Regions from separate parts of the Homo sapiens genome. Here all the other regions are linked to region 2. The links are contacts of gene promoters, found by promoter capture Hi-C in blood cells and fetal thymus (Javierre and others, 2016). All regions are on one chromosome and are shown on one strand. Each heading gives the region's core, a stretch centred on a gene start or on the middle of the fragment in contact. The rest is flanking DNA. Distances are from core to core; before and after follow the strand shown. Region 1 overlaps FGFR1 (fibroblast growth factor receptor 1). Region 2 holds the start of PLPBP (pyridoxal phosphate binding protein). Region 3 overlaps KCNU1 (potassium calcium-activated channel subfamily U member 1). Region 4 overlaps NSD3 (nuclear receptor binding SET domain protein 3).

The links. Contacts are between HindIII fragments. The CHiCAGO score rates a contact against its expected background, and 5 or more counts as called.
Region 1: a contact is called between a fragment that was not itself captured here and the fragment with the promoter of PLPBP in region 2, in 4 of 17 cell types (naive CD4 T cells, activated CD4 T cells, neutrophils and 1 more). The highest score is 7.8, in naive CD4 T cells.
Region 3: a fragment that was not itself captured here is called in contact with the fragment with the promoter of PLPBP in region 2 in 2 of 17 cell types (endothelial precursors and M1 macrophages); the score reaches 5.9 in endothelial precursors.
Region 4: a fragment that was not itself captured here is called in contact with the fragment with the promoter of PLPBP in region 2 in 1 of 17 cell types (total CD8 T cells); the score reaches 5.8 in total CD8 T cells.

The regions. Positions count from the first base shown.
Region 1 is chr8:38,414,786-38,417,485 of GRCh38, forward strand. It overlaps FGFR1 (fibroblast growth factor receptor 1), which reads right to left. Exons shown (of 18, transcript NM_023110.3): 12 at 2,521-2,631; 13 at 1,085-1,275; 14 at 1-116. Among named protein-coding and RNA genes, the nearest start is that of LETM2, 30 kb to the left of the region's middle. RefSeq lists enhancers at 593-1,363, 1,804-2,469. The HindIII fragment of the contact is 8,773 bases long and covers 1-2,700 here.
Region 2 is chr8:37,761,295-37,763,994 of GRCh38, forward strand. PLPBP (pyridoxal phosphate binding protein) reads left to right here and starts at 1,351. Exons shown (of 8, transcript NM_007198.4): 1 at 1,351-1,464. The coding sequence starts at 1,366. It overlaps LOC124901934 (a long non-coding RNA gene), which reads right to left and starts at 1,970. Exons shown (of 2, transcript XR_007060889.1): 1 at 1,633-1,970; 2 at 1-1,519. RefSeq lists enhancers at 900-979, 1,080-1,539, 1,117-1,411, 1,720-1,779 and a silencer at 1,039-1,359. The HindIII fragment of the contact is 3,991 bases long and covers 734-2,700 here.
Region 3 is chr8:36,853,169-36,855,868 of GRCh38, forward strand. All of the region lies in intron 18 of KCNU1 (potassium calcium-activated channel subfamily U member 1), which reads left to right. Among named protein-coding and RNA genes, the nearest start is that of KCNU1, 70 kb to the left of the region's middle. The HindIII fragment of the contact is 703 bases long and covers 1,064-1,766 here.
Region 4 is chr8:38,367,550-38,370,249 of GRCh38, forward strand. The region is part of intron 1 of NSD3 (nuclear receptor binding SET domain protein 3); the gene reads right to left. Among named protein-coding and RNA genes, the nearest start is that of NSD3, 13 kb to the right of the region's middle. The HindIII fragment of the contact is 643 bases long and covers 1,106-1,748 here.

The DNA of each region.
Region 1 (2,700 bases), core at 1-2,500, 650 kb after region 2:
GTCTTTTTATAGTAGTCGATGTGGTGAATGTCCCGTGCGAGGCCAAAGTCTGCTATCTTCATCACATTGTCCTCTGTCACCAGGACATTCCTGGCTGCCAGGTCTCGGTGTATGCACTGAGGAAGGAGGAAGGGAGAGCGGGAGGCGGGGAGGTGAGGGAGCTGGAAGGCTCTGGGCGGCCGCCACCCATGCAACTAGCCGACTTGTCTCATAGAACTTCTGCCACACTGCTCTGCCCCCCGAACCTTTGCTTTCCCTCTTCTAACATTCTCTGCCAGCTCCAGGCTTCTCATCACAGCAAGCGCTCCTCCCTTCCTTCCCCAAAGACTGGCCCCTTATGCCTCTGCTGCGTCTGCAGCGATGCATGCTCCTAGGTCCTGCCTCCCAGCACAGCAAGTCCACATGGGGCTGGGCTCAAACCAGGCCAGCCCTTACACACCAAACACTGCACTCAACACTCACAGACAGTTTCATTTTATCTTCATAACAATTCTACAACAGGTATTGTTATACTTTATTTTCTTTTGAGACAGGGCCTTGCTCTGTCGCCCCGGCTGGGGTGCAGTGGTGTGATCATGGCTCAGTGCAGCCTCAAACTCTTGGGCTCAAGCTAGCCTCCCACCTCAGCCTCCCGAGTAGCTGGGACTATCGGCACGCACTACCACACCCAGCTAATTTTTTAATTTTTTTTTTTTTTTTAAAGACGGGGTTTCAATATATTGCCCAACCTGGTCTCACACTCCTGAGCTCAAGCAATCCTCCCGCCTTGGCCACTGCACCCAGCTGATATTATTATTATTTTGTATTTGAAGAATTTTAAGATGCTAAGTAGCTGCCTGAGGCTACGCAGAAAGTGGCAGTGCACAGATCGGACCCTGCATCAGTCTGACCCCAAGGCCACCTGGCTACACTGGTGCTCCTGACTCTGCAGTTCCCAGAGAGCCTAAGACAACACACAGGGCACACAGGGCCAGTGCTCAGTGCATCCACAACGCCACCACAAGATGATAAGTCACAGGCTGGAAGACTAGGGGGGCTCTGTTCCCACCCTGGCATTACCCAGGGGAGCCTTCAGGTTCCACACCTTCTTGGAGGCCAGATACTCCATGCCTCGGGCCACCTGGTAGGCGCAGGACACCAGGTCCTTGGAGGAGAGCTGCTCCTCTGGGTTGTGGCTGGGGTTGTAGCAGTATTCCAGCCCTGGGGGCCTCCGGGCCTGCAGGTACTCCCGCAGGTTGCCCTTGGAGGCATACTCCACGATGACATACAAGGGACCTGCAGGCACAGGAGAAGAGGCCATGGGGCCAGCAGCAGGTGAGCAGGTTTGGCTTCACCTCAAAGAAACCCCACCCCCAGCAGCACACCCCGGCCAACCTCCCATCTCCTGCCTCCTCTTAGGGGACCTGGGAAATCCATTCTACTACCCAAAAAAAATCAGAGAAATAATTACTCCCAGCATAGTCCAGAAAATTCCCGAGCAACATTGGGGTAAGAGCCCCAGTTTGTCTGTTTATTTTGAGATGGAGTCTCACTCTGTTGCCCAGGCTGGAGTGCAGTGGCGCAATTTCGGCTCACTGCAACCTCTGCCTTCTGGATTCAAGTGATTCTCCTGCCTCAGCCTCCCAAGCAGCTGGGATTACAGGCATGAACAATGCCTGGCTAATTTTTTTTTTTTTTTTTTTTTTTTTTGAGATGGAGTTTTGCTCGTTGCCCAAGCTGGAGTGCAATGGCGCGATCTCGGCTAACCGCAACCTCCGCCTCCCGTGTTCAAACGATTCTCCTGCCACAGCCTCCCGAGTAGCTGGAATTACAGGCATGCGCCACCACGCCCGGCTACTTTTTGTATTTTTAGTAGAGATGGGGTTTCACCTGTTGGCCAGGCTGGTCTCCAACTCCTGACCTCAAGTGATCCACCCGCCTCACCCTCCCAAGGTGCTGGGATTACAGGCGTGAGCCACTGTGCCTGGCCTATTTATTTATTTTATTTTTGAGACAGCGGGAGTATCTCCCAAGCTGGAGTACAATGGCGTGATCTTGGCTCACTGCAACCTCCACCTCCCGGGTTCAAGCAAGTCTTATGCGTCAGCCTCCTGAGTAGCTGGGATTATAGGCATGCGTGACCATGCCTGGCTAACTTTTGTATTTTTTAGTAGAGATGGGGTTTCACCATTTTGACCAGACTGGTCTCGAACTCCTGATCTCAAGTGATCTTCCTGCCTCGGCCTCCCAAATTGCTGGGATTACAGGCATGAGCCACTGCACCCAGCCTGAGCGCTCTTAGACCATAATTACTCAGCTGCCTCTGTTAACACACCACGTGTGTGAATCTAGGTATCTGTATTCCTGAATGAACACCAATGAGCGGAGCCCAGATCCCGAGATAACACATTTTAAACCTCTGCCAAAGCAGCCTCTCTTAACCCCCTTCCCTAGCTGTGGCTGAGAGAGGCCTTGGGACTGATACCCCAGCTCAGATCTTCTCCCCGCTGGGCAGGGAAAGCCAGTCTGGCCGGCACCCACCATCCTGCGTGCAGGCCCCCAGCAGGTTGATGATATTCTTATGCTTCCCGATCATCTTCATCATCTCCATTTCTGAGATCAGGTCTGACAAGTCTTTCTCTGTTGCGTCCGCTTTAAAGAACACGTTGAGACTCATTTACTTGGGAAGGGAGGAGGGCAGGATAAAGGCTAAGGGAGTGG
Region 2 (2,700 bases), core at 101-2,600:
AAGAGTGCTTTCCTTAACAAAATTGATCTCCTTCTCCTTGCCCGTAGCACCTACTATTTCACCACCTGACTATGTAGCATTCTGTATTATTATTTGTATGGCCTGGCTCCTCATCAAGTTTATAACCATATTGCCCACAGAAGGGGACTCAAGAATCAAACTCAGGGCGTTGTGGTGCCCGTTTGTAGTCCCAGCTATTCTGTGAGGCGGAGGTGGGAGGATTGCTTGGGCCCACGAGTCCCAGATAATCTGGGCAACATAGCGAGACCCCATCTCAAAAAAAGAATCTAACTGAATGTGCTGAGCTCCTGCTAGACCATCTAAAGCTGCCTGTGGGCTGGGCGCGGTGGCTCGCACCTGTAGTCCCAGCTACTGGGGAGGCTGAGGCAGGAGAATCGCTTGAACCCGGGAGGTGGAGGTTGCAGTGAGCCCAGATCGGGCCACCGCACTCCAGCCTGGGTGACAGAGCGAGACTGTCTCAATAATAATAATAGTAATAATCATGCTGCCTGTGTCCCCTGATGAGACAGCACTGGCCGCAGGTGGCCGCTAACCTCTCGAAATAGGGATGGCCCGAATTGAGACATATGCAAGTCAACACTACACCGGGTTTCAGAAACACATACGATTTTCAAAAGAATTAAAATATCGCATTTAGTTTTTCTATTGATTGCATGTTGAAATCTTACTTTGGATATATTGGATTAAATAAAGTATATCATTAAAATTTTTAAGCTTATGTGCCTATGAGAAACTTCCAAATTACACAGTTGGATGGCGTTATATTTCTCTTGGACAGCAGTGGTCTGAAAGATGACAAAAATCACGATACGTTTGAATCACGCCATGTCTTTAGGGAAAAGAAGAAAGAAGAGTTTCCTTTCGTATCGCTTAGGGGTTCCTCGCAAGAACCATCTGACAGAGAAAAGCCCTGGCTCCCGCCCCAGTGGCTTCTAATTCTGGTCCCCGCGCCCAGAAAGCCGGGAACGGGCAAGCCTGGAAAGGCGTTTTGAAAGGAAACAGGATCCCCCGAGTATAGGATGCGTTTCTGCCTCACAAAAGTCCCTTGGGGGTGGGGGGACGGCAGCGGCTGAGGCGCAGGAAAGAGGAGAGCACACGGGGAGTGGCCCTTGGAACCAGGCGCGCAAAACCTCAGCCCCTAGGCTCCATTTCCAGGTTCGCGGGTGACCTCCCCAAGATGGCCGCCGCCTGGGGGCGGGCCTCCACGCTGCACGGGTGTTGATTGGGTGAGACGACTCAATGATGAGCAATGATTGGTTCACACGGCGCAAGCTGGGCGGAACCGGAAGATGGTGTGAGCCACGGGCTGCCGGGGGCCTGGGGCTCGGCGTCGGTCCCCGGGGGATGTGGAGAGCTGGCAGCATGTCGGCCGAGCTGGGAGTCGGGTGCGCATTGCGGGCGGTGAACGAGCGCGTGCAGCAGGCTGTGGCGCGGCGGCCGCGGGTGAGGAAGGAGGCTGCGTGGGGACGGTGGGCGGCCGCCTTGAGAAGAGGGACACCTGCGTGGGAATGGGTCGTCACGGTGACGCAGAGGGGTCTCCCAGAGAGGCGGGACTGGTCGGCCGCCTAGGGCCACCGAAAGGCTAGCGAAGGGTTTCCCCAGCCTCCTTACCTTGAGTCTGTTAGGTTTTCTGGAGATTGGCTTCGTTGGAGCAGAGGGTACCGCTACCTCGGGAAAATGACTTAGTGCCTAGGTGTCGTGGCCACTTGCGCACCGCGTCGTTTCGGGGTCGATAGCCTTGGCGGATGCGAGGGGGGCCAGGCCTGTGCCCACGGATGGTAAGGGGAGACGGGGGTACAAGAGCACCCCGCGGAGGCCAGAGACGCCCGAGATCGCGTGTGTGGCAGCGTCTCACCTGCTAAGTGCCCAAGAAATGCCAGTGCCGCCCGGAGGCCGAGGTGAGGGTGGACTGGCCGGACTTCGCTGGCATCAGAGCGGCACTTGTTTATGGGGCAGGAGGGAGAAGTCCAATCCCAAGCCGGTTAAGGGGAGCTTTCGTCTTTTGTGTATATATATATTACATCCTCTTGGACTTTGATTAGACCAAGAATCAAAATCTGCCCACCTCAGTGCAAGTTTAAGCTGAATGGTGTGGAATGAGACGGACCTTAACAGAGAGGTCACAGGTTTCTCTGATCGAGCATTTATGCTGGCTGAAGACAAGACCTGTATTATAGTCTTTCTTTGACTATTCCTTAGACGTTACCTTGAACAAGTCAGGTAACTATTCCGGCCCTCAGCTCTGAAAGCTCTGAGATCTCTTCTGATGTTAATATTCTGTGATTCTCGGTGATTCTCCAAGAAAAATCTAGGGCTTCCCCTAATAAACATCACCTTGGAGGTTCTCTCAGGGAAACTCTCAGGCAGATGGGCTGCCTGTTCGGGTAACTCTCTGGAAAGCGTCAATCATCAGCATACTCCCAGTAGTCACGACTTGGACTCAAACGAGGCTGGTTACGCATCGCTGTGGAAGGAAGGAAGAGGAGACATTTTTCTAATTGATCTGACTCCGTCACGTCCTTGAGAACACTGTGATTCTGTGAAAACTTCAGGGGATGATGGATACAAGAAGACTAAATCGTGCAAGGATAAACGAATCTCTTCTCTTACTGTTTCTATGTGGATTGGGTGGCAGCAGAACGCATAGAACCCCCGCTCTTTGTATAGTGGTCGTGAGAG
Region 3 (2,700 bases), core at 165-2,664, 910 kb before region 2:
GCAAAACTCCATCTCTACTACAAATACAAAAATCAGCCAGGTGTGGTGGCACATGCTTGTAGTCCCGGCTACTCGGGAGGCTGAGGCAGGAGAGTCACTTGAACCTGGGAGACAGAGGCTGCAGTGAGCCAAGATCATGCTACTGCATTCCAAGCTGGTTGACAGAGCAAGACTTCTCTCAAAAAATAAATAAATAAATAAGTAGGCATTTATATCTAAAAATTTCCCTCTAAGCACCTTTAGAAGCATGGTGTATTTTTAATGTGTTATGTTTTTATTTTCATTAATTTAAAATACTTTATAATTTCCCTGTGTTTTCTGTTTTCTTTTTTGTATGTTTTTGACCCATTGTTAAGAAATGTGTTGTTTTTACTTTCACATATTTGTGAATTTTCCTAATTTTCTCTTTTATTGTATTCTTATTTAATTCCATTGAAGTTGGAAAGCATACTTTGTATGACAAATTCTTATAGTATTTTAAGACTTGCTCCATTGTCTAATACATGGTCTATCCTGGAGACTATTCAATGTATACTTGGGAAGATCATGTATTATTCTGTTGTTAGATGGAATGTTATATGGATGTCTGTTAAGTATAGTTGGTTTATAGGGTCGGTTAAGTATAGGTTGGTGTGTGTGTGTGTGATTTTTATTTCTTCCTGTGGATTTGAATTACTGCCTAATGTGCTTGTATTTCAAACTCAAGGAATCCCGTTAGTATTTATTGTAGGGTTTGTCATATGTGAACAAGATCTAAGTTCTTGTTAATCTTAAAAATGTCTTAATTTATCATTTATTTTTGGAGGATAGTTTTGCTAACTATTAAATTCTTTGTTGGCAGTTGTTTCTCATTCAGCGCTTTAAATATTTCATCCTACTTCTTTCTGGCCTCTATTGTTTCAGATTAGAAATAGCTTTCAATTTGATTGGTCATCCTTTCTACACGATGAGTCACTTCTGTCTTGCTGACTTGAAGACCCTCTGTCTTTGAGTCTTACATTTTTGATTATGACAGGTCTCCATGTGTCAATCTCTTTAAATTTATCCTACTAGGAGTTTATTAAGCTTTTTAGTTGTGTAGATTAATGTTTTTCAACCACTTTGAGAAGTTATTGGCCATTATTTCTCAAATATTCACTCTACTCCTTTCTTTACTCTTCTCCTGGATCTTTCATTAAATCCTTTGGTACACTTGATAATGTCCCAGCGGTCCCTTAGGCTGTCTTCATTTTTCTTAATTCCTTTTTTCTTCTGTCCCTCAAACTGTATAATCTTCATTCACCTATCTTTGAGTATGCTGATTCTTTTTTTTTTTTTTGCATGCTCAAGTCTGATCTTTAGTTCCTCTTGTAAAGTTTTTATTTTAGTTCTTGTACTTTGAACTCCAAGATTTCTACTTAAAAAAATTTGTAACTATTTAATGACATTCTCTATTTTGTGAGACATCATTCTCATATTCCTTTTGGTTATTTATATATAGGTTTTTAAAGCTCTTCAAATATATTTAAATTAGCTGATTTTAAAAGTCTTTGACTAGTAAGTACAATATCTGAGCTTCTCTCAAGGATGGTGTCTATTGAGAGCCTTTTTCCTATGTATTTTTATCTTGCTTGTTTCTTTCCAAGTCTTATAACTTTTTGTTGAAAATTAGACATTACACAGGTTATAGTGTGTTATTTATGGAAATCAGATTCTCCAGTAGACTTTCCCAAAGTCTATCTCTCTGTCATTTGTGGCCATTGAATTTTCTACTCAACTTAGTGGTAAGCTTATAATTGGACAATGATTTTTGTTAAACACCTGGAACCAAGAAGTTTCTCAGTCTTTGTCAAAGGATTCTGTGTTTGTGTTGGGGCATGCCTTCAATAGTCAGCTGTAAAGTTGACAACTGTGTTTAGCCTTCATTTTCTGCTTGTATGAAACCTCAAGGTCAGTTAGAGATGAGAGCTTTGGAACTTCTCAGGCCTTTCTGCTTATGCATACAGCTTTACACAGTTCTGGGCATCTTCATTGTCATTTAGATTTCCAGTAATATTCCAGAGTTTTTCAAAGTCCCTTATAAGTAAGAAGACATTTTATTCTTCAGTTTTCCTTTTATGCTTTCATTTGGTCTTCAATTTGCCCTGCTATCTGTTGCCTCAGGCACATGTGACGTTAATATATTTGATAACACTCCCTGGGGATAGGCTTGTAGCACTAGATACATGCAAATGAGGCTGAAAAAGAAAAGCCATTCAAGTAGGGTTATGCAGGGAACCACCAGACAAGTCAAAATAATGACTCTTCTTTGGAAATAAGGCTTTTGAAGAACTGTATTTCTGCTGTACTCCCTCTAGTGCCAAGAATATGGAGTATTATGTTTTGAAAGCTATCGATGAGCTGTGGAGCTGGAGATGAAACTAGTGTAAATTAAAATAACACAAATCTTATATCTCTTACTGCTATCTATTTATTTCTCTCGACTAAATGTTTTCAAGGCTCCTGTTGGTTAGTTTCCAGAGTTCTGAAAAAAAAATAATTCTCACAAGTTTTGCCAGTTTATTCTATTTTTATGGAGGGGCGGCCTATCTCGTGTCCTTCCTCTACCTTTTATTTTATTTTTTTTCTGGTATCTTGTCTTCATTTTTTAAAGATAGTTTTCCTGGGTATAAAATTCTTGGTTGGCAGTTTATTTCAGCACTTTTCAATGACATCTTATTG
Region 4 (2,700 bases), core at 177-2,676, 610 kb after region 2:
AAAAATACAAAAATTAGTTGGGTGTGGTGGTGCATGCCTGTGGTCCCAGCTACTAGGGAGGCTGAGGCAGGAGAATCACTTGAACCCGGGAGGTGGAGGTTGCGGTGAGCTGAGATTGTGCCACTGCACTCCAGCCTGGGTGACAGAGTGAGACTCTGTCTCAAAAAAATAAATAAATAAAAAACTAACTTTAAATCTCATCTATCACCTTAACATTATTTAAGATGACCATTATTTGTAATATCAAACAATTATATGAAATTCACAACCAATACAGTTAGTGACATAGATAGGATTTTAGGGAGTAAAATCAGCATGGCCACGATTCTCTTTACAAAATCCTAGTAAGGAATCAAGGTGTGTTAGAGAAGTTGTATGTTTTCTCTTAACTTTTTTTAAACTTTTCTGAGTTTAAACTATTAATAAAGCAAAATATCTTTTTTTTTTGAGACAGAGATTTGCTCTTGTTGCCCAGGTTGGAGTGCCCTGGCACAATCTCGGCTCACTGCAACCTCTGCCTCCAGGGTTCAAGTGATTCTCCTGCCTCAGCTTCCCAAGTAGCTGGGATTACAGGCATGCACCATCACACCCAGCTAAAGGGGGTTACACCATGTTAGTCAGGCCGGTCTCGAACTCCTGACCTCAGGTGATCCACTCGCCTTGGCCTCCCAAAGTGTTGGGATTACAGGTGTGAGCCACTGCACCAGGCAGCAAATTATCTGTAAAGAATAACTGTGCTACTCCATAATCTGTTTAACTTTAGCGTTGTCACCTCAAATATTTTCTGAAATGTGTTCACTTTAAATTTTCCACTAAAAATTTAGAGAAAGATGTTTAGAGAAGGATGATGATTAAAGACATTAAAATATCCTGAATTAGGAAGTAACCTGCGTGAAGTAGAACTTAGTTAACAAAATACAAAAAAGAAAACAACAACAACAAAAAAGTGTTTCATTTAACCATAAATCCTGTCACTAAATTCAATCATACAGTTTTCACTTGACTATGATTCCATTAAGTTATACAACATTTTAGGTGGCTTTGTAGTTCATATTTTTTTCCTGACTAAACCACATTACTATTGAACTGCCTTTTACCAATACAAAGCTTACTAGTAAAACACCCTGTTTCCCTTATCTATCTAGTTTAACCTCAACTGTCTTCGCTTTGTTGCTGACCACACCCAGCAACAACAGACATGGTATTACCACTTGAAGGAAATTACATTATTTTCCAATCCTTTACAGCAAGGGTAGTTGCTCACAATGAAAATTACTACAAACAACTTTCATCAGTCATCTTGTTCCATTCACTATGAAATCTAGTAAACTAACAAGTTCATCCACATATTTTCTTACCTATTTCCTGGACAAACTTTTAAATTATGGTAAAATGGTTTGAGATTGGTTCTTAAAATTTTGCAAGCATTCAAATTTACTTTCTTTTAGCTTGTATCCTCCATTCCCCCAAAAAAGGCAAAAGAGAATGTATGCCAAAGATGATATGTAGTTTTTAAGGCACTAAGCAATTTATTATATCTAAATAATAATTTACTAAGTTTATCTTTTCTATAAAGACCAGTTTGGGTTTTGTTTTTTTTGTTTATCGCTTTAGTATTTTAGGTTCAACATGTAGTATTTTAGTATTCAACATGTAGTTTTCAAAATAAGTAATAAAAGTTAGAAAATTCAGAATTTCATACTATATATCCAAATTTCACATCACCTGTTTGTTTAATCAGAACACCAAGCTTTAGTGAAGCTTTAGCCATCATGAGTTGTAATAAAACAGTGGAAGTAAAATTGGACTGGAAAGTTAACTTCATGTTCAAACTTGAACCAGCATGAATTCTCTCAACAATTAAGAAAAACTCATATAACCTAGGCAAAGATTCTCTTCAGGTATTAGTTGATGTTCAACTTTTAACTTCTATGAAAGTGAGTTTAGCCAATTGAGTTCAGTTCTTCTTCCATTAAACATGTGACTAAAGACTAGTTCATTTTGTGTACACTATTTTTCTTCTATTAAAAAAGTTATTCATTATCAACTATGTGTCTGGTACAGTTCTACGCACACTCTAGTACTTCTAATTTGAATCCCTGTAACTCCAAGAATAATTTTCATTTGCACTTTTAGAGATAAGAACACTGATCTTCAGTGGTAAAGTGAAGTGGGGATAGGAACTCAGATCTCCTTGACTCTTGCCCTATACTTCACTGCCCTCCCAGTTTTGTTTTTTGTTTTTGTTTTTGTTTTTGTTTTTGAGACAGAGTCTCGCTCTGTTGCCCAGGCTGGAGTGCAGTGGCACGATCTCAGCTCACTGCAACCTCTGCCTTCTGGGTTCAAGCGACTCTCCTGCCTCAGCCTCCTGAGTAGCTGGGACTACACGCGTGCACCACAACACTGGCTAATTTTTGTATTTTTAGTAGACATGGGGTTTCACCATGTTGACCAGGCTGGTCTCAAACTCCTGACCTCAAGTGATCCACCCACCTCGGCCTCCCAAAGTGCTGGGATTACAGGTGTGAGCCACCACGCCCAGCCAGCCCACCCAGTTTTTAAAAAATGTTTTGTTAAACGGCTTAAGCGAACATAACAAAAGAACAACTTTCGGGGGGAAGGTCAATTAGAACAAAGCAAACCTCTCTTAAAAGAAAACCATATTTTCTATAAGGTGATAAGTTTGCTACAGTTAACTGT